Regions from separate parts of the Homo sapiens genome. Here regions 1, 2, 3, 5, 6 and 7 are each linked to region 4. The links are contacts of gene promoters, found by promoter capture Hi-C in blood cells and fetal thymus (Javierre and others, 2016). All regions are on one chromosome and are shown on one strand. The core of a region is centred on a gene start or on the middle of the fragment in contact, and the rest is flanking DNA. Distances in the headings are between cores, read along the strand shown.

Region 1 (3,105 bases), core at 312-2,811, 350 kb after region 4:
GAGCACCTAGTGTTCCATCGATGAGACCTGGGTGGATGTTGCCATCAGTGTTGGTGGACACTGCACTAGAGATCTGAGCAAGAGTGCTTACTTCCAAATGCTCCATCTATTCTGCAGTTGCCTCCTCTCCTGATTGACATGTAGCAGCAGCACAAGCTATTTCCACCACAGCTGAGCTGGTAGGAGCATTAGTCACAGATGAAGAAAACCTAGGTTGGCTTGACTGCTTGATAGCTGCCATATCCTGGCCGTATACCCTACTGATTTTGAGACTTTCCTTTGAGGCCTCTGGCTTGCCCTGCCTGCCATAAAAATTTGTCTTGTCTTCATCTTGAATGGTACTTGGATTTGTTGCAGGAACTGATTCAGAGCTGTGGGGTGGGAGGTGGGGCTACTCTCAGTCTCAGCACATGTGTTCTGGCTTTCCAGATCTATTTCAGGTTCTGGATCTGCCTGAATTTTCTGCACATCACATGGAGACATGGATGACTTCTTGGGCTGCTGCCAGAAGAGATGCTTCAAGCCTTGGCCAATCACATTAAAGTACTCCAGAGCACTATGGGTCATTCTAGACAATTTGTTTTCTGACTCTGTCTGCTTCCTGGCCTTTGCATCTGCAAAGTAGAAAATGTGGCATTTTCTACTTTGAAAACTTTTCATTTTCTTGATGATATTTTCCCCTTATCTCTCCTCCTCTAATTAAGGAAAGACTGCAACCAAACTATCCCTCCCTGATACAGGACACTGTACCAATAGAGCAGTCCCTCCTCCATCCTACCTCAATCACACCCTGTGGTTCTTTATAACACAGTATATCTTTGATGCTAACTGTCACCAGGAAACCTTTCTCCTTAACCCAATGAAACAATAATCGTCTTTCACTAATGTCTTAGCCGTGTGATTGTGTGACTAGATTATACTTGGAGTCAGTAACAGAAAACAAACCACATACACTAATTATAAAATCTTTGGATCTGTTTTTAATTCCATGCAACTGATGTGGTAAAGTGACAGAAGATGAGCTAAACACAAATCTGGATTTTGTTCTGTCACTATCTGGGTGGCCTTAAAAATGCTACTTGGCCTCTCTGGGTCTCAATTTTCTCACTCATTCAGAAAAATATCATTTGATTACCCTCTATGTGCCAGGTCCTGTGTTAATCACAGGTAAAGAAGACATGATCTAGACTCTGTTGGTAGGGAAGATAAATAAAAAGAAAGAAAAGAACAGAAGGGAGGGAGGGAGGGAGGGAAGGAAGGAAAGAAGGAAGGAAGGAAAGAAGGAAGGAAGGGAGGGAGGGAAGGAGGGAGGAAGGGAGGGAGGAAGGAAGGAAAGGTGAGAGGGAGGGAGACAAGGAGAAAGGGAAGGAAGGAGCAAGTAAATATATAATAATAAATTTTAACATAAAATTTGTGCTTTTCAAACTTTTACTTTAGCCAAAATACTATTTGTTCAAGACAAATCTAACGTAGCAGCACTGACTTGCAAAATACGGCATGGCCCCACCATGTTGATCTCTACCACTCTCTCCTATGGCACTCTGCCCTTGTTCATCCCACCTCTGCCACTGTGGTCTTGTCATTCCTGAATCATGCTAACTCACTCCCAACTCAGGGTCTTGCCACCTGCTGCTTCCCCTGCTTGGAACATTTCCCCCATATCTTCAGATGACCTGACCTTCATTTCATTCATATCTTTGCTTAAATATCACCTCAGAGAGGACACCTCTGATAACCCTATCTAAAATCATTTTGTGTTCCCCAGTGCCTTCCTACCTTGTTCTGCTTTATTTTTTTATCATTTATTTCCACTTGAAATTATATGTTTTTTCATTTTTATTTTCTCTCTCATCAATGTAAATTCCATGACAAGGTCTCTGCTTTCCTAATTTCTCTTTGTAACTTCTTTTATCAGGCCAGACTCATAGTAGGAGCTCCATTAATATTTGTCAAATGAACATTAGGAGAGAGATGACTAAAGGGGGAATGGTTCTGTTGAAACATTGAGATAGGAAGCTAAGTCCTGTGCAATCTATTTCCTCCCCATGTAGCCCCTGAGGACACTTTCAGGTCTAACACTGCAGGACACAAATTATTTCATCAGGAAAGAGGTCTTAAACATTAAACTTTATTTTTTATTCATTTTTAAATTCCAAAACATGTACTCTGTTCTAGAATAAAAGCTATGCTATGTGCTTGGTCTCAAGGAGACAATAACATTATCTATTCTGTTTGGAGTTTATTGTCTAGCTATAAAAAATTAATCTAAATTAATGGGATGATATGATAGAGAAGCTGGGGCACACAGAAGACAGAGTAACTGCCTGCAGGACACCTTACATTTCTCCTCCATAAAAGGGATGTTTACTTCTCAGCTACAAAGTTTACTATAAGAATAAAATGAGAAGATGGATATGAAAGTGTTTGAAATACTGCAGAACATCCTCAAAAATCCAGTGTGAGTATGATTATTCAAGATTAAATAGAACATCAGGAAAAATGGCAGAGTAAGAAACTCAGGAGTTTTGCCCCCTATGAAAGCAACAAAAAATAAACTGTCAAAATCTTTCAACATTAACTTTTTTGGAACTCTGGAAATTAGCCAGAGATTGAGTAATATAAGAACTTATTCAAAAAAAACTAGGTAAGGGCCAGGCGTGGTGGCTCACACCTGTAATCCCAGCACTTTGGGAGGCCAAGGCAGGTGGATCACAAGGTCAAGAGATCGAGACCATCCTGGCTAACATGGTGAAACCCCGTCTCTACTAAAAATACAAAAACTAACCAGGTGTGGTGGCATGTGGCATAGTCCCAGCTACTCAGAAGGCTGAGGCAGGAGAATCGCTTGAACCCAGGAGGCGGAGGTTGTAGTGAGCTGAGATGGCACCACTGCACTCCAGCCTGGTGACAGAGTGAGACTCCGTCTCGGAAAAAAAAAAAAACAAAACAAAACTGTAAGAACAACAAGCATTGTGGGGTTTCAATTTACCCTAGTGCAAGCCCTTCTCCCAGGCCCAGCAGTAGTCTTGGAAATAATAGCCTATATTCCCAGCACCACTGGAAGTGGATTAACTGTATTCACAAAAAATTTGTCATTATGTAACC
Region 2 (2,916 bases), core at 60-2,559, 330 kb after region 4:
TGATACAGGGACTCCACCACACCACATAATGGGGCTGGGGTGAGGGGTCTAGGGGGGTGTCAGCTGCCCTGGTGGGGACAGGGAGGCAGCCAGAGTCCCCCTGTCCCCTGCTCTCTCCCTGCAGTCCCTCCCAAACCCTGAAGACATCAGACCAGGGAGTGGGACGTAGAAGGAGGGCTGAGGTCTGGAGAGCACCCTAAAACAAATGTCAGGAGAACAGAGGGAAGAATGCAAGCCAGAGTTTTCCTGGGAAAGGAAGATGAGGAAGATGCCCAGGACCCCACCTCCCCACCCCCAGGAAAGCCTGCTCTCCATATTCCTCCGAGGCAAAACATCTGGAGCCTGTCTTCTTGGGGCCAAGTTTAAAGTCCCTCTGCGCCCCAGTGAGGCTCAGCCCCATTGCTGCCTCTCTGTCCTAACTCCTTACCCTGATTTTTTCCTTCCTCCGAGCTCTCAATTCTGTCTGGCTCAGCCCTTGCCCTCTGCCCACTCAGGGAGGAGAGGCAGAACTCAGCTGAAAAGAAGGAGGGGGGCAGGCTTGGAACCCAGGCGGGACAAGCCCCACTCCTTGCAGGTCCCGTGGGTCGCAGAGGCATGCCACTCCTGGAGGGGTACCCCTACAAGCATGCTACCTGAAGGGTCAAAGTAGTGTTTAAAAGCAAAGAATACAGAAGCTTCGGGGGTGGAGAGGAGGGCGTCACGAGATTAAGGATGATTGTCCAGAGGTCTTTTCTCCTTTATTCTCACCGTTCAGAGGGGAACCCCAATCCTACCCCCACCTGGTGACCTCTCGATCGCTAGAAGCCTCTCTCACAAACCCCTGCTGGCAAGTCCCCCGCCTGCTCCCAACTTTCTCCCTGGAGCCTGGGCAGCTTCCCCTAAGGACAGAGGAGGGGAAGCCTGGCTCTCCTGAAGAAACTCACAGGAGTGAATCCCTGGCAAAGTCCCCTCTTCACTCAGAAGCCGCCGCACCCCACGGCCGCAGCCAGTGCAGCGCGGGGTCCCTGGAGCATCCTCCCCGGGAGGGCGCGCTCTGTACCTGCGGCATCGCGGAGCCCGGCAGGCAAGGTCCGGGTTTCTTATTCCGGGGCCGGATCAGGAGACGCTTCTTCCAGAAGCCGGCAGGCGAAGGGCAGGTCCCCGCTCCCTTCCTCCTCTGCTCGGGGCTCTTTCCCGGCTCTGGCGGGGGAGTTACCTTCGCGCCGCCGCTGCAGATCCCCCGACCCGGCCCGCGCCGGACTCCCTGTCCCCGCCTCCGGTGGCCGTGAGGCGCCGAGGTGCGGGCTCTTGGCGAGGCGTGTCGCCAGCTGGGCTGCAGAGGCCGGGATCGCCCTGGGCGGGAGCGTCCGGATCGCCCTGGGCGGGAGCGTCTGGAGCTCCCAGGCGGCAGCTCGCGACGAGGACGCGCGGGAGGGAGCCGGGCCAGGCGGGCTGCGCGTTGCCCGGCTCAGGCTTCGGAACGGCCGCCTGGGGCAGGAACGGGGTCGCTGGGGCTCCGGGCAGGGCTCTGCGTCAATCCCGCGCCGGGGGCACCCATGCAGGGCGGCTGTGCCCGCCTCGGGGCACGGGGCTCCTCGGCGGCTCACCTTGGCAGCCCAGCGCCGTCGGAGTGGACGGACACGGCCCCGCTCAGCCGCGAGCTTGCAAAGGACCGAGGAGCCTCCCCCGCTGCTCACACACCTCCTCAGGGGACACTCAGGGGCCGGCCCCAACCTGGTCCCCTGGGCCAGCCTGAACGGACACCAGGGCCATCTTTGTTGCCAGCTGCCCTACCTCTCCGTAAAAGAGGCTCAGAGAAGTGCTTTCTGGAGAGCAAACAAGGGGGCGGGGTAGCACACTGGAGAGAGGAAGGACCCCCGCCCAGGGATGTCTGCTTAGAAGGCTGGGACGGACAGCGCTGACTTACAGAGCACAGTCTACCTTTACAAGCCCATAGATTCCTCAAAACGTGAGGCATATAGTCCCGCAATCCCACTCCAAGGTATGTAACCCCAAACTATTGAAAGCAGGGACACACATACACTGATGTTCATGGCAGCACTATTCACAGTAGCCAAAAGACAGAAACAACCCAAATGTCCATCAGCTAAGTGGATTAACAAAATACATATAGTATATACATGCAATAGAATATTATCCAGCTGTAAAAAGAAATGATAACAAGTGTTGGTGAGAATGTGGAGAAACTGGAACCCTGTGCACTGTCGGTAGGAAAGTAAAATGGTGAAGCCACTGTAGAAAACAGTATAGGGTTTCCTCAAAAAGTTAAAAAATACAATTACCATATGATCGAGTGTTTCCACTTCCGGGTGTCTAACCCAAAAAATTAAAAGCAGGGTGATACGGTTTGGCTGTGTCCCCACCCAAATCTCAACTTGAATTGTATCTCCCAGAATTCCCACGTATTGTGGGAGGGACCCAGGGGAAGGTAATTGAATCATGGGAGCCTGTTTTTCCCATGCTATTCTCGTGATAGTGAATAAGCCTGACGAGATCCTGTGGGTTTATCAGGGGTTTCCACTTTTGCTTCTCCCTCAGTTTCCTCTTGATGCTACCACGTAAGGAATGCCTTTCACCTCCTGCCTTGATTCTGAGGCCTCCCCAGTCATGTGGAACTGTAAGTCCAATTAAACCTCCTTTTGTTCCCAGTTTCCGGTATGTCTTTATCAGCAGTGTGCAAGTGAACTAATACACAGGGTCTCAAAGGCATGTTTGTACATCCATGTTCATAGCAGCATTATTCACCATAGCGAAAACATGGAAACAATCCAAATGTCCATCAATGATGAAGGGACAAACAAAATGCTCCACATACACACATACACTCACATGGGAACTTCCAAAAGTTTGTGGGAAAATGGAATTAAAAGATAAAAATACATAAACTTTAGCTCTCAGCATAAGCTCCATCACGTT
Region 3 (3,171 bases), core at 227-2,726, 320 kb before region 4:
GGGCACTGTGATGCTGGCATCTACAGGGCATCTCGGTCAGACCTACCCTCTGTGGGGTGCCCAGGAGGTGCTGCCTGTGGGGCCGTGCTCAGTCTGGGGAAAGGGAGTCTAGATCTTTATTTCTAGGCCAGCAACCCCCACCCTCACGCTACATTACTGCCTTTTGGAAAGGGCATTTGTTTTTTTGCTTTGAAGGAAGGAGAAGGAAAATGTGTGTGGGATCAGCAGGGAGGGGTTGGGCATTGCTCAGGAGCCTCCTGACACAGGCACGGCCGGAGCGCTGAACAAGGGAGTTCTGGGTGGGGCATTCAAGGGCTGCTGCAGACAGAGGAGCCGGCATCTGGAGAGGACCACACCATGTGTTCTGTGCTTGGCGCCGCAGTTCCACACTCCCAGGACAAGGCCTAAAATGTCTGGGTGCTCGGTTTGCCATTGGGAACAGGAGGCGATGAGGTCCTTCTGGTGGAACTCGTGTATCTTGTGCGCGCTGGGGATCCTGGGGCTGCCTTGGTTGGGTGGGTGCGAGGGCAGCACCTCTCATGCTCTGCTGCAACCAGCATTTAGCAACAGCGTTTCTGGAGCCCTGGCGGTGCTCTGGCCTTCGGGGTAGTGGACGCTGACACCACAAAATCAGATGTGGCAGGTCCCTGCCCTGGAGCAACCCTTGCAGTCTAAAGGGAGAAAGACAGGGTGACATCGGAGGTTTGTGTCCCCTGCTGTGGGTGCTCAGAGGAGGGGGTACCAGGCCGGAGATGTAATGTGTATGGGGGTGCAGAATGGGTTTGGCCTGGCTGCAGTGTGAGAGTTTCAAGCAGGCATGAAACAGTCAGGGTTGTATTTTAGAAAGATCACTGTGGCTGGTGTGGAAAGAGGGTTGGGGGGGTACCAGGAGAGTGGTGGCTGTGCTGGGTGGAGGCTCTGCGGCCATCCAGGAGAGTAATTCCAGAGGGCAGGCAGCCCGGCAGGAGACACCAGGGGAAAGCAGCTAGAGTTCCTGCTGTTTTGTGTGTAGTGCATGTGCATGTGGTTTTGATTGTGTGCATGCATGTGTATGTGTGTGTTTGTGCTCATGTGTGTGCCTGTGTGCATGCATGTGTGTGTGTCCACACATGAGTGTAGGTGTGTGCATGTGTGTGAGCGTGTGTGTGGGTTGTGGGAGAGTATAAGAATGAACATTTACTGAACTTGGTATTGTAGTCTTCATTTTACATTTACATTACATAAACTGAAGCTCAGATATTTTATTTTTTTGAGATGGAGTCTTACTCTGTTGCTCAGGCTAGAGTGCAGTGGCACAGCCTCTGCTCATTGTAACCTCCACCTCCTGGCTAATTTTTGTATTTTTAGTAGAGACAGGGTTTCACCATGTTGGCCAGGCTGGTCTTGAATGCCTGACCTCAGGTGATCCACTTGCCTTGGCCTCCTAAAGTGCTGGGATTACAGGCGTGAGCCACCGCACCTGACCTCAGATATGTTAAATACCTTCCTTTTTTTATTCAATGAATATTTGAGCATTGTCCATTTGGAGGGCATATTTTACATATTTTGCCACATTTAATCCTTACACTTATAAAGGAGTTACTATCATCTCCCCATTTTGTAGATGAGGAAACTGACACTTGGACAGATACAAATCCTGACACGATTGAACAGGGTGATGTGTTTCTACATGGCAAATGTCATCTGAAACATTTTCAAATGATGGGCTTCTCATTTTGAATATTCAACATAGTCTTTTACTTTTTTACACAAAAAGGGCAATCTAGGTGCCTTTCATGATCCTCCAAGGATAAAGGAAAGAAGGAATGAGGGGATAGGTATAGATTTCATAAAACAATAAGAAGGCACAAAGTCAAGTCTACAAGCACAGCATCCTTAAAGCAGCATCCTGTGACAAAGTCCAAAGCAATAAATTGGGGTTATGGAGGATTCCACAAGGCCCCGATTCATGTAATTCTTTCTTTCTTTCTTTTTTTTGAGATGGAGTTTTGCTCTTGTTGCCCAGGCTGGAGTGCAATGGTGTGATCTCGGCTCACCACAACCTCTGCCTGCTGGTTTCAAGCAATTCTCCTGCCTCAGCCTCCCGAGTAGCTGGGATTAACAGGCATGCACCACCACGCCCGGCTAATTTTGTATTTTTAGTAGAGATGGGGTTTCTTCATGTTGGTCAGGCTAGTCTCAAACCCCTGACCTCAGGTGATCCGCCCGCCTCTGCGTACCAAAGTGTTGGGATTACAGGCGTGAGCCACTGCGCCCAGCACTTCTTTCTGTTTTAATATTAAGCCTCTAACTTTGGCATGTGCTAACACAATGTGAAAAGGAAAGGAGGAGTGGTTGTGAAATGTACTGTAAACTAGCACTTCTGGATTTTAACATGTGCACAAGCCCCCTGGGTGTGGTATTAGAATGCAGATTCTGATCCAGTAGGTCTGGGTAGGGCCTGAGAGTCCCCATTTCTAACAAGCTCCCAGGAGACGTCTCTACTGCAAGGCTGTCAATGACGTGAAGAAGTCACAGGTGCCTGCCGTTAGTGGAGAGTGGGAATGTGGGCGAGAGTCTGATGGGAGGAGATGAGTTTTATTTTGGATGTGTTGCATTTGAGGCACTCCGATTTTTCCAGAAGAGTCAGTATGACAAAAACTAAGCGAGAAGAGTCAGTGGGAAGAGTGGGGCGTGCTGCTTCCTCCTGTTTGCCTCGAGGTCCGCCACCCCCAGCTCTTCTCACTGTGCCAGGAGGAGTACCTTTAGGACTGTCAGCAATGGCTCTCTCACCTTCTGGACTGTGGTTGGGTTCAAGCCAATGGGGAGCCCTGCAGGAGGGTGCTGGAAGGAGATGAGTAGATTGGGGTGTGTGTTTCCCTGACCCTTACTCTCCAATGCAGGCCCCAGCTTGTTGGGGTGGGGGTTCTTCTCAACATAGCTCACTCTCTCTGGTGCTGGTAGCTTTTCTCTGTTACTGGCCCTGGTATACTGCACCATTCCTTGTTAGTGAGGGGACTGTTTTTGGAGGTATGGGCTTGTTTGGGCAAAGCAACCAGCTTGTGTGTGCCATCTGTGTTCTGTTTGGCAATGACCAATAGAGAGGACATGGTCGACAATGCTAGATGTTGTAAGAGAAGGAATTGGAACCAGGACATCCACTTTTGCAATTGAGAGCTCTGTGTCCAAGAG
Region 4 (3,277 bases), core at 724-3,223:
CTAAATATTAACAAAAATGATTTGGGATAACTGACATGGCTTGGTTATTCAGCTTAAATTTGTACTGTGGCTTATGTTACACAGGTTGTTGATGCTCACCTCTCACTCACTTGTTTCTAATTGTTTTATAAGGTTTAAAATTCTCTCTTTAGAGAAATTCAGAAAATTCACCTGGCACATATTTTGACCTCCTAGGTAACATATTTGTACCAGTATTGAATTTTGGTCAGTGCCCCAATATAAGAAAGTTACTGTTTTAAAATAAAGCAAACTATCTTATTTTCCTTGGAAAAAAAAAGAAGTTTTACAATAAATAGCATAGTATAAATGAATACTATGGTTTGAGATGGCTATAAGTGCTAAAAATCACATCTGAAAATGATTTCAGTTAATTTTCCTATTTAACATGGGATGTTTTCTTCCTAATAGAAATAATCTTTTTATTAAAAAAAACTTTCCAAAGCAATGGATTAGTAGGCAGTTTGGATGCCAATGATGAGAAAGCAAGTATAGAGTGTCTCGCTGGCAAGAGTGATCAGCAGAGGCGATGTCACTAGCAGTGTCCCAGGATACTTGGTTTAATTATTTATCACAGGGTCCCTGACATTGGTTTTCAGAGCACAGAGCTTTATGCAGGGTGCCTCATTCTGGGTACCTAGTCTCATTTCCTTTGCCTGGGACAAAATAGTTTTGAGAACTGCTCTAGAGATTCAAGGTAACTTTTGAAAAAAAATTAAATTTTTCTCCCAATAGCTTAAAAAGGAGTTAAAAATTAGTCTCCTAAAAAGTCAGAGGTAGAAGAAATTTTAGAGAACACCTAGTACAATGCAATCATTTTACAGATAAGGTAACTGAGCTTCAGGGGTTAAGTGAGTTGGCCAAACTTATACCTCTTGTTCACAGCAGAACTAGGAGAGAAATCAAATCTAACCTGTGTCTGGAGCTCCCTCTGACCCTTTTAAACTTTGCTGCTATTAAGAGGACCTAGTTCTAGGTAGTCATTTTACATTTGCAGCCCCATTATAAAGTAGAGTCTGCCGTAACGTTTTCCAGTGTGTAGTATGTTGAAACATGAAAATAGTCATCTGATTCTAGCCCCTTTGCATCGTGTTGTGAGAAACCCGGCACTACTAGTTACTTTGGCAGGGTTTCTCGGTCCACCTCCTCCTAGACTCTCAGGCTTCTGTCTGGAACCACAGGAGAGATGCTGTGGTAGCTTCATGTTTCAGATGCTTTCTTAAATAAATGGCCATGCTAGAGCCCAAGGCAAATCTTTCTTTCTTGGAGACCCATTTTACTGTAACAAATGTGACAAGAAGTCTATCTCAGCCACTTATTTTGATAATAAGCTTTTCATCTTTCCTGAACATGCTCAGGAATTTTGGTAAATAAAAGGAGGAATTCAAGAATGAGGGATGATCGGCACTTTCTAGGGCTTAGGAACTGCTTACCCTGCATGGAGACCGGAATCAGGTGATGCGGAAAGTCATTTTGTTAAAAATAGGTCAGTGTGAGGTGCTCAGACAGCTGTCTAATCTCAGCACAATTATCCTTCTCTATAGAGATGCTTATAAATGCCATGATTATATAAATAGAAAAAAGATTTTTTTTCATTATTTCTTCTTCTAAAAAAAAGGGATACATGTGCAGAACGTGCAGGTTTGTTACATAGGTATATGTGTGCCATGGTGGTTTGCTGCCCCTATTGACCTGTCCTCTAAGTTCCCTCCCCTCACTCTCCACCCCCCAACAGGACCTAGTGTGTGTTGTTCCCCTCTCTGTGTCCATGTGTTTGAAGAGAGAATTTTTTTAAAACAAATTTTCCATGATGGGGCCATAAGAAGCAGACCTCCTAAATCTCAGAATATTGACAGTCTCCAATCATTTGGTGGTAAATTCAAAAGGAAAAATCTACTCACTGTGAACTTCATCTTGTCTTCACGAAAGCAGTGGACAGAGGAGTAGGCAAGCATGGACCTGAATGAGAAGCCTTCTCATATTTGTACTTAACCAGGTTGACTCAAACTAGGTGTTATCAGGTGGGGTCAAAGACTTACCTTCCTCAATTTCTCCTATCTGTGCCATGAGCCAGTGTACCAGGAAACCTTTCAGAATATCTGCATGCTTAGCAAGGAACTTTCACATGGAGTTGACCTGACTCATCACTTGTTGAAGCTGAAGGTATCACAACAAACTCAATATGATTTATGATAACTTCTCACCCAGTCAAAGCTGTGGGCGTGAGTATTTTACACGCTAACATTGCTCAGATTCAGAAAAAGAATAATCCCTAAAATCAAACAAAATCACAGCTGAAAAGCCACGTGTATACTAGGCCTTCCAGATAGCAGCTCCTATAGGAATGTAGGAATGGTTTCCACTTCTTAACTTTTATCTGAGCCCATGGCAATGGTTTTGCTTAGACTAAACATGTTTTGTGAGCAACTCCCACCAAACCTACCCCTTTTCTGCAATGTTGAGCTCACTTAATGATAGCACCATATATCTGGTACAGCCCTTTCTTCTCAGTCTGACATCTACTTAGTTACTGTCATTTTATCTCTGAAATGCCTCTCAACTCTGACCTTGCCCACAGCTCCCCTCACCTGGACTTTCACAACAGTCATGCAATTGATCACTCTGGTCACCAGTTTCTTATATTCCAATGCATTTTCTTCATTAACCCTGAGGTTGTCTTTCTGAAGTGCATAGATAGACATGACTCTATCACGCTTGGAAATTTCGCTGGCAGCCTACAGAAAATTCAAAGTCATTGGAATGGCATCCAGGGTCCTATGTAATAAGATTTCCAAAGGCTTCCCGTCTGCCACTTTATGCTATGTACCTACATTCTAGCTCCACCAGCGTTCCCACCATTCCTGGAAAAGTCAAGATGTGTATGTCTCCATGCCTTTGTACATGCTGTTGTTTTATCTTGGAGGGCCACCCGCTAGCCTCTCGCTTGGTAGACTCCTGTTCATTGTTCAAGGCTCAGCTCAAATATCACTGCCTCCATCACATCTCCCCCATCTGATAGATAGAACTTTCCTAGTGTTTGTTTTTTCCTTCTGGGAACTATAAAAGCAATATCTTTTTATTTGCTTCTAGATAATTTAGTTTTCAGAAGTTACATTAAAATAATAAAAAATATTTTCATCAAAAGCAGAGAGTAGAAACTATCAATTGGGCAGACAAGTAAAAGCTCAAAACAGGTTTGGAGGTGAGTTGGTTTTAATTTTTTTCCTGCTTTTTCCTATACAGTGAAGCTAGTAAATTA
Region 5 (3,133 bases), core at 225-2,724, 340 kb before region 4:
AAAGATAGGTCTGAAGAAATAATCCAGAATGCAGCATTTACTATAGAGAGTGATAGAAAATGAGAAAAGTCAAAGCTTCTTGACTTTTTAGAGAATTTTCTAGACCAGATTAAAGGCAAATCCTAGAATTTAGAGTGCTTCACACATCTTAAGCTGATAAAAGGAAATTGCATTCTTAAACACATTGTTTTGAAACTGAACACAAAAGATGAAGAGATCTAAAAAGCCAGAGAGATAAGACTACCCACAAAAAGTCAATAATTAGACTGACAGCTTATTTCCCAACTGCACCAGTGGAAACAAGGACAATGGAACTATTTCAAAGTGCTGAAAAAATAATTCATGAAACTGAATTTGAAGACTGATGGGAAAAATGTGCTATCTGATGAATAAAAACTGGGACTCTCACTAAAATCTTCCAAAGATAAATGCTAAGGTGATGGAAAATGATCCCACAAAGGCTTAAGATACAACATAATGAATGGTGGCTGGGTGTGGTGGCACATACCTGTAGTCCCAGTTACTCAGGAGGCTGAGGCAGCAGGATCACTTAAGCCAAGGAGTTCAAGGCTGTAGTGGACTATGATCATGCCTGTGAATAGCCACTGCACTCCAGCCTGAGCAACATAGCAAGATCCCATCTCTTTAAAAAATAAAAAAGAATGGTGAGCGAAACAAAACAAAACACTTTTAAGTGAGGGTAAATCTAAAGCACTAACGGTCTAAAACAGTAATATTTTAGGAGCTATAAAACAATCCATAATGAACTAAAATGCTAGACAATAATATTGTAACTTAGGAGTAGATGAGCAGGGTTAAAACATAAGGCTCTTTTTATGATGTGGCAAGAGGGTAAAGATAACTTCTGACTTTGTGAAGTTAAATATGGATATTTAAACTTTTATGAAAACTAAGATTAGAGAATATAGTTCCCAAAGTAACAGAAGAAAAAAAATGGAATTTAGGAAATCCAAGTACATTGGTAATAATCACAACAAGTATAGAAGACATCTAAAACACAGGGACACAGAAAAGTTGAATGTGAAAGGCTGGAAAAAGGTACACCAGGCAAATCCCAACCCAAGGAAAGATGGCAAGCTACATGAATATGACAAGATAGACTGTAAGTGAAAATGACTTATTTGAAAATAGTGCGTCTTCCATGGAAAAGTTTGGTAGCTTCTCAAAAAGTTAAACATGGAATTACCATACGAACCAGCAGTTCCACTCCTAGGTATATACCCAATAGAACTGAAAACAGAAACTCAGGTACTTGTACACCAATGTTTATATCAGGATTACTTATAACAGCCAAAAGGCGGAAACAACCCAAGTGTCCATCAACGAATGAATAAAGGAAATGTGATATATACACACAATGGAATACTACTGAGTCATAAAGAGGAATGAAGTCCTGATACACTCCAAATCATAGCTGAACCTTGAAAACATAAGCAAAATAAGCCAGACATTAACGAACAAATATTATATGATTCCATTTATATAAAATATCTACAATAGGCAAATTCATAGAGACAGAAAGTAAATTAGAGATTACCAGAGGCTTGAAAGAGGAAAAAATGGGGAGTTATTGCTTAATAGATACAGAGTTTCCATTTTGGGTGATGAAAACTTTTGAAGATGGATAGTGGTGATCATTGCACAACATTGTGAATGTAATTAGTGCCACTGGATTGTACACTGAAGAATGGTTAAAATGGCAAATTTTATGTTATATGTATTTTACCACAATAAAAACAGTTTAAGACTGGATGTAGTGGCTCGTGCCTGTAATCCAAGCACTTTGGGATGCTGAGGCTGGAGGATCACTTGAGCTCAGGAGTTTATACCAGCCTGGGCCACATAGTGAGTTCCTGTGTCTACAAAACAAACAAAAAACCAAAACCCTTAACTGGGTGTGGTGGTGCATCTGTGGTCCCAGCTACTCAGGAGGCTGAGGTAGAAGGATCACTTGTGCCAGGAGCTTGAGTCTACAGTGAGCTATGATTGTACCACTGCACTCCAGCCTGGGTAACAGAGCAAGACCCTGTCCCAAAAAAAGTTTAAAAAAGCATTACTAGAGACAAAAATTGTTACCATCAAATGATAAAAGTTTCAATTCAACAGGTATTGCATTTAACACTTTTGCCAAATGGTGAATAAATCTTTGTCTCTCATTATGGTTTTAATTTATATTTCCTTTTTTTCTTTTTTTGGAGATGGAGTCTTGCTCTGTCACCCAGGCTGGAGTGCAGTGGCGCCATCTCGGCTCACTGCAACCTCTGCCTCCCGGGTTCAAGCGATTCTCTTGCCTCAGCCTCCCGAGTAGCTGAGACTACAGGTGAGCGCCACCACGCCCAGCTGATAGTTTGTATTTTTAGTAGAGACGGGGTTTCACCATTTTAGCAAGGATGGTCTCGATCTCCTGACCTCATGATCCGCCCACCTCAGCCTCCCAAAGTGCTGGGATTACAGGCGTGAGCCACTGTGCCTGGCCTATATTTCCTTGATTATTAATGATTTGAGCATCTTTTCATATGTGTATTGACTGCTTTTTTTGGTGATGAATCTGATCAAATCTTTTTAAAATCAGTTTTTAAAAATTGGATGATTTATTGTTTACTTTTTAACTTGGAGGGGTTTTTTACATATTCTGAATTCTAGTTCTTTGTTGTGTATTGCAAATATGTTCTCCCCTTTGTGACCTGTCTTTTCATTCTCTTTTTCGTATTGTATAGAAATTCTTAACTTTAATGTAGTCAAATTGATTACTTATTTTCCCTGATTTGTGCTTTTATGTAACTTGTTCAAGGAATCCTTCCTAGGTCTTAAACATATCCTCCTGTATTGTTTTCTAAAACCCTTAAAGCTTTTCCTTTCATCCTTGGATTTTTAGTTCACCTGAAATGGATTTTAAGTTTGATATGATGTAGGAATTCATTTTAACTTTTTTTTTTTTTTTTTTTGGCCGGGCATGGTGGCTCATGCCTGTAATCCCAGCACTTTAGGAGGCCGAGGTGGATAGATCTCTTGACGTCAGGAGTTCGAGACCAGCCTGGCCAACATTACAAAATCCCGTCTGCATTAAAAATACAAAAATTAGCCAGGCATAGTGGCGGGCGCCTGTAATCCT
Region 6 (3,275 bases), core at 143-2,642, 280 kb after region 4:
ATCTCACATGTTCCTTTCTACCTTTTTCCTTCTTTCAGCAGGAGTTGGGAAGGCTGCTGGAAGACAGCCAACTTTAGTAGCTGAGTAAAGACTAGAGTTCCAGCCATCTTCAAAGCACCACCAGGAGAGGAGTTGAGTGAGGAGAGGTACCAGTGGCAATGGCATGGCGGTGGTTCTTGGAAAAGGACTGTACCTCTGAAGCACTGTCAGCAGCAAAAAGGGAAGTGTTACTGCAGGAGGAAGGAGCAGCTACAATAGTCAATTCACCCAGCTCCCTAAGATGAGAGATTTGGAAGGATGAGATGAAGTCAGCCCACACTGGCACTGGTCACACATCTGTTTATTGGAAGAAGTGCACCTTCTCTCTTAGTGCAGGATTTTGGCATAGGTGCAAAGATAGCTTCACTGTTTTTATTTTTGAAGAACATGAATATTATAATTGCCTCTGCTCTGTGGCATAAACTCTAAATAATGCCTCCTGACTTAAAGAAAAACAGACAACTTAATAGTCATTAAAAACAATTTAAGATAATTCAACTACATTCCATCTCTCTTTTTTTTTTTTTTTTGAGACGGAGTCTTGCACTGTTGCCCAGGCTGGAGTGCAGTGGTGCAATCTCAGCTCACTGCAAGCTCCGCCTCCCAGGTTCACACCATTCTTCTTCCTCAGCCTCCCGAGTAGCTGGGACTACAGGCACCCACCACCATACCCAGCTAATCTTTTGTATTTTTAGTAGAGACGGGGTTTCACCATGTTAGCCAGGATGGTCTCGATCTCTTGACCTCATGATCCACCCATCTCAGCCTCCCAAAGTGCTAGGATTACAGGCATGAGCCACCATGCCCGGCCATATTCCATTTCTTAAGGATTCACCTACTCAACCCATAGTCAAATGTCTTGTCCTCTCTTCTAGTTTATCCCTTCTCAATATCTTCCATGTAGATGGAAGTGACTTGAGACTATTCTCTTTTGCATTCTCAACTCCTAAGTTAATACTCCCTGAAATCTATCCTACTGGGTTCTTCTGGACTCCATCTCATTCCTAGATTTATTGTAATTTTTCTTTCATTTCCAGTATAAATTCTCTAGCTAACACTTCTCCTCTTGTCCAATAAACTAGACCTCATAATAATAAAAATGACCACCAAGGAGAGTAGAATAGAGGAGAGAGAAGGAAGGTAGGAAGGATAGGATAGTGTAAGGGAAGTACCAAGTTAACAATGCTAGAATTTCCAGAATGTTCTTTATGGGCAAAGGGAGGGTCAGAGATTATGAGTGCTTATGCATTATTTGATTTTGTCTGTATTGTTCAAGGAAAATGAAATTTCTTTGAAAAATTCAAAGTATTTTTTGATAGGGAGGAAACACTTCTCCATCACCTTTGTGTCTAGGTAAAGAGCTTCATTGAAAAAATAAAAATATAACAGAAACTTATAGTGGGATTTTCTGAGGTTGGCACTAACAGATGTCTGTGGCCTCTGTCCACTAGAGCTATTTGAGCAGACCCTTACTGCCAGAAGAGACCACTGTAATGAAAACCTTAGTTAGTCCTCTTGGAATTATGTGGACTAAAGTGAAATTATTGAGCAAGGGGTCTAGGGACTTTGAGTGGACTGATGACTCCAAGGAGGGTCTGGCCTCCTGTCATTTGCTTTCTGCCTCTCAAATTTTGATAGCATATTTATACAACTGTCCAGAGCTACCATTCCCTCCTGGATAGGAATTTTGCCTGCCAGGTACCAGTGAAAAATGAGGACGAGACCTCTGGCCCCAGCTATTGGCAGAGAGTCAGGCTTATTGGTGTACTCCTGCTGGCTGGAGCATCACTGAGAGCTCACAGGCCACGTGCTGAGAGAACATCACCCTCAGCAGCACATTTGTCAGAAAGCTGTTCTCACCTGGACACCTGAATCCATTACAGGCTTTCCCCAAACCCAGCAACACTGGAGACCTGGCTTCTCTCTACAAATACTCTACCCTTCGAAATCTCAGTCTAGTGAACAAACCTTTTTCTCCATGCAGAGTCCAGGCCAGGTGTGTTGGGAACATAAGCCCCTGTCAAACACCTCATTGTACCTCCATCTGCAGAAGAGAAGCATGTTTTCCTGACCTTCCGCTGGTAATCACCATGTTTTGGGATGCATGGTTTTTCATTTTAGACATTGATGTCAATTTCAAACAAGTTATATTCCTACCACACTCCTAACAAACCATATTTTAAATTAACATGCAATATTCAGATTTTAAAGCAAAAGTGCAAGCTAAAATATTAACCTGTTAATTGGTTAATAGTTATAAGGCCTAATGACACCTTTGAATCAAAAGATATACTGTATTCTGCTTCATTTTGCAACAATACTAGGAGGTAAGAAACACTGACTATTTCCTGGGTGTCAGGTACACAGTACCTTATTTCATCTAATCCATGGTCAGCTCCTCTTTGGCTCTCGGTACTGAGGATGAGTTCTGGTCCCAGAGACCAGAGACAGCAGAGAAGACACAAAGTAACCACAGGCCTTTTTCCATTTCAGTTGGTAATACACCTCTTCGTTATGAGAGTTAATGCAAATGAGCACAATCTAAATGAAGCCCCGCGGAATTACTCAGAAAGGGGAAGGCAATGCAAGATTTCCAAAGGAGTCTTGCAGAGAGAAACAGGAGAGCCCTGGGTGGTAATAGCTATCTCATTTCCTGCTAGCACTTTCTCGCCACATCACACCACTTCTCTGTTTTTCTGCTTTATCAATCAGTAAAATGAGAGCCTCAAGACAATAAGGCCCATGGCCCAGAGATCATGATTAACTGCAAGATTCAAAATCAGCTGCAAGAGAACGAAGCTGTCACATGGGTTTCTAAAGAATATTTGCCTCTTTCACTAAAGGGAGAATGAAGGTTGCTTAACCTCTCTGTGAAATAAGTTTCAGTTCCTCTTCTATGAATGACTGGCTAAACTTCATTTTCTCTAAGACCCTCTAGTATTCAGTTCTCTTCCCACCTGCTTGGCCTAATCCTGCATGAGAGGCAATGATTGGGAGCAGGAAAAGAAGATATGTAATTTAGTTTCTGAGGAACAAGTCTTCTGGAAAGCTTTGTAATTAACCTATTTTCCCCAAAACTGATTCTCTGTCACCCTAGGACACTGACAATAAACCATACCCATGATTTATCTTCTTACCTACTTGCAGTAAAGGAAAGAATAATGAACCAAGAATTGCAAGACCAGATTCTTATCACAAATCTCAAATAACTCTGTAATATTTGCGTAAGTAGTTAA
Region 7 (2,950 bases), core at 81-2,580, 270 kb before region 4:
GGATCTTTGGAGACCATAGCCCAAGCCACTAAATGTATATTTATTTTATATTCTGCCTTGTTCCAGAAAAGATCTGAGAATTTGGGTGGCTTGGGACAGGAATTTTAGGATTTGTGGAAAGCTAGAGAGAGAGATAATTTTGAATAGGCTGATGCAGGAGGTCCAAGACAATGATCTCTGTTTTTATCCCTGGGTGATGAAGCCCAGTGTTTAGCAAGTGATTATAGGGCTTATTGATTAAACAGATCCAGAAAGACCTGGATAAATGGGGTGAGTCCTAGGCATGGTGGAAATTTCAGGCAGAGCATTTCTGTGTTGCAGATCTGATGTATTTCCCCTTGGTTAACAGCTGAGGTTCTATGTCGAAAAGCCAAAGAGAAGTATATTTGTATACACACACATGCCTTATGGGGGTTAATCAAAGATCCTTATTATGTCAGGACCATTGTCTCTCAGCTCTGCCCAGAAGTCTGTGGTGCATGGCTTTACCAAGAAAAAAAACAAAAAACAAACAAACAAAAAAAACTAGTGATATTGTGTGATAGGTCCTAATGATGGTATTTTGGGAAGATCAACTTATGTTTATCTCTGGAAAACAGGATAAACTTCATACCTCAAGTGATTTAAACTGAAGCCAAACCTTGATTTTTAACATGATTCATTAACAGGTTGCTCTTCGACAATGCCATTGTCTGTTGATTTAGGGTCCATGTCTGGCCAAAGCCAGCCACCTCTAGCTGCTGATGGCCTGTGGGTTTTAGAAACTGGCTGATGCTCCCATGAATACGCCCCTGTCTATTGCACACAACTGATTTCACTTACACATCAACATAGCAACATACCTTTTCCATCAGTAAACACCTGCTCCCCTTCTCACTTGGAAACTGGAAGAATTTGCAAGGAAAAGATGCCATACATTTTTTATGTACCTGCAAATCCCAGAAGAACATCCTTCTGCATACCCGTCTGATGTTGAGTTTCTTACCACACCAGGGACCCCAGCATTTCCAAAGTTGTAGGCAAAGTTTTCCTCTTTCTTGGGTGGTGCACAGGGGTGAAGGTCCTTAGGCTCCTAGGCCAAGGGTCCAAAGTCCAGGGATGGAGGTGGAGTAGAGGCAGGAAGGCAGCATTTTAGAAACCCAGCAATGTATTTCTTATCCAACTCTGCATTTCACCTTCAGATAAATGATTTTCTTACTGGTCTCCATGAGACATAATCCTGTTGAGAGCATCTTGCAGTTTCACTGTCTCTGGAACCTTCTAGAGGTGATAGATGGCTGGCTATAAATCTGACTGTAGTTGCCTCATCATTTGTTTTCTGGCAATTTAAAATATCTGTTTCTTTCAGCTGATCATGATTGTTGGTATACTGGCATTGCCAACCAATTTTTAGAATGTGTGAAGGTCAGTGGGCTTTATCACCACTCCTCTTCTCTAACTGGAAAGACTTGTTCTAACATCTCCTGAAGTTTCTGAGAGAGCCCAGAGCAGGAACTTTGGGCTCTAGACAGAAGGCCTTGGAGGAGGGCGGGAGGGAGGAGGTGCCCTGTTGGGAGGTGGAGCCTGGGGAGGAGGGGGAAGGGTGGAAGGTGGGGACGGGATGGGAGGGGTAGGGGCGCTGGGGGGCGGGGGAGGGCAGTGGGGCGCAGGAGGTGGGGGAGTGTAGATGGGGGCAGGAGGCGGCGAGGAGGTGTGGTAGGCGTTGTTGAGTGGGTACTTGGCTGGCTGGTTGTTCTTGACCCTGGTGAAGTTGATGCAGCGCCCCTAGAAAAGAATTGGAGAGAAGGAAACGTGAGCGGACGGCCTCACATCAGGGCCTGTGGTGCTGTGGTGGGCGGCTTGCAAGCAATATGTGGAAAGCTGGCCCCTGTTGGTGACAACTCTCTAGTGGCACATAGTAGAACTTGAGGACAAGTGAGCTCCCCACTTCCTTTTCCTGGACTGTGTTGCAAAACTGTTAAAATTCATCTTTTCCTGGAGTCTAACTCTCTCAAGTGGGAGAAAGGGAATGAGACTGACCTTAACTGGGTGCTGTGTACAGAGGTCATTAAACTGAATCTCCTCAACAGCCCTGCTAACCGGGTATTATTAGCTGTTCCACTGCACAGATGAGGAAGCAGAGGTTCAGAAAAGCGGAGTTACTTTTTCAAGGCCACACAACTAGGAAGAGATGGGGTTGGTGATTCTAACCCAAAATAGACTCCAGAATTATTCTTCCTGCTGCTACTTTGCCTTCTGGAAGGGATCCTCATATTTCATAAACAAAAGTAATTTATTTTGATTAGTTCAGTTACATGCCTGGAAATGGCAGAAGGTTAACACCACGAGCTTCTCCTATATTGTAATTCAAGGATGTAGCTAGATTCTGTGATTGGAGTTGTCATGGAGGCCCTGATGCATTTACCTCGTCTGTGCCCCCTCAAACACTTGTTCCCGGTAATGAATGAAGGAGGCAGCTATCTCTACTGATGTGATCAATACAGCTTCCTCATCCACGCCTTGCCTTCTCCAAAGTGCTAGTAAATAATAAACAGTTTGTCCTGCCCTTGTTCTGGCTGTGGGAATCCCTCTTCTACACGCGGCTGCACCTGTGCAGGTAGCCTTAGTTGTTGTCACAGGAACTGACAACCTGTGTACCTTAAGAAATACAACCTGGGGACATTCTATTGCCAAGCAGGCATCTGCCCTGAATTCTGCTTTTCTCCTACCCTTCTTGGGTACTCAACTGAACAATGCAGAGAAGACCCTGGAACCCCTTAAAGCAGCCTCCTGAAAGTCAGCGTCCAAAGCCAGCCTTAAGTAGCCCTGTCTCCCCTATAGTATCTGCTCTGCTCTCCAGAGTCACAGGCATGCTTTCTCTGTCCCCCAGTAGATACCCACTAGTCTCATCTGGTACTCAGGAACTTCTGTGCAACACTCAGCTCTGCAACGGAGGGGAGACAGGGGTTCT

What was found. Contacts are between HindIII fragments. The CHiCAGO score rates a contact against its expected background, and 5 or more counts as called.
Region 1: a fragment that was not itself captured here is called in contact with the fragment with the promoter of GKN1 in region 4 in 5 of 17 cell types (activated CD4 T cells, naive CD4 T cells, non-activated CD4 T cells and 2 more); the score reaches 8.1 in activated CD4 T cells.
Region 2: a contact is called between the fragment with the promoter of PROKR1 here and the fragment with the promoter of GKN1 in region 4, in 10 of 17 cell types (non-activated CD4 T cells, activated CD4 T cells, total B cells and 7 more). The highest score is 11.4, in non-activated CD4 T cells.
Region 3: a fragment that was not itself captured here is called in contact with the fragment with the promoter of GKN1 in region 4 in 5 of 17 cell types (M1 macrophages, megakaryocytes, M2 macrophages and 2 more); the score reaches 10.4 in M1 macrophages.
Region 5: a fragment that was not itself captured here is called in contact with the fragment with the promoter of GKN1 in region 4 in 4 of 17 cell types (M1 macrophages, M0 macrophages, endothelial precursors and 1 more); the score reaches 8.6 in M1 macrophages.
Region 6: a contact is called between a fragment that was not itself captured here and the fragment with the promoter of GKN1 in region 4, in 5 of 17 cell types (fetal thymus, total CD4 T cells, naive CD4 T cells and 2 more). The highest score is 5.9, in fetal thymus.
Region 7: a contact is called between a fragment that was not itself captured here and the fragment with the promoter of GKN1 in region 4, in 1 of 17 cell types (M1 macrophages). The highest score is 6.2, in M1 macrophages.

What each region holds. Positions count from the first base shown.
Region 1 is chr2:68,624,572-68,627,676 of GRCh38, reverse strand. It overlaps the pseudogene LOC100379290. Among named protein-coding and RNA genes, the nearest start is that of PROKR1, 17 kb to the left of the region's middle. The HindIII fragment of the contact is 3,535 bases long and covers 1-3,105 here.
Region 2 is chr2:68,641,972-68,644,887 of GRCh38, reverse strand. It overlaps PROKR1 (prokineticin receptor 1), which reads right to left and starts at 1,309. Exons shown (of 3, transcript NM_138964.4): 1 at 1,040-1,309. The HindIII fragment of the contact is 2,701 bases long and covers 677-2,916 here.
Region 3 is chr2:69,294,534-69,297,704 of GRCh38, reverse strand. No RefSeq gene overlaps it. Among named protein-coding and RNA genes, the nearest start is that of GFPT1, 91 kb to the left of the region's middle. The HindIII fragment of the contact is 8,338 bases long and covers 1-3,171 here.
Region 4 is chr2:68,973,332-68,976,608 of GRCh38, reverse strand. It overlaps GKN1 (gastrokine 1), which reads right to left and starts at 1,973. Exons shown (of 6, transcript NM_019617.4): 1 at 1,920-1,973. The coding sequence starts at 1,931. The HindIII fragment of the contact is 2,059 bases long and covers 1,352-3,277 here.
Region 5 is chr2:69,313,855-69,316,987 of GRCh38, reverse strand. No RefSeq gene overlaps it. Among named protein-coding and RNA genes, the nearest start is that of GFPT1, 72 kb to the left of the region's middle. The HindIII fragment of the contact is 2,794 bases long and covers 78-2,871 here.
Region 6 is chr2:68,689,672-68,692,946 of GRCh38, reverse strand. No RefSeq gene overlaps it. Among named protein-coding and RNA genes, the nearest start is that of ARHGAP25, 44 kb to the left of the region's middle. The HindIII fragment of the contact is 3,397 bases long and covers 1-3,090 here.
Region 7 is chr2:69,244,039-69,246,988 of GRCh38, reverse strand. ANTXR1 (ANTXR cell adhesion molecule 1) reads right to left here. Exons shown (of 18, transcript NM_032208.3): 18 at 1-1,764. The coding sequence ends at 1,504. Among named protein-coding and RNA genes, the nearest start is that of GFPT1, 140 kb to the left of the region's middle. The HindIII fragment of the contact is 5,707 bases long and covers 1-2,950 here.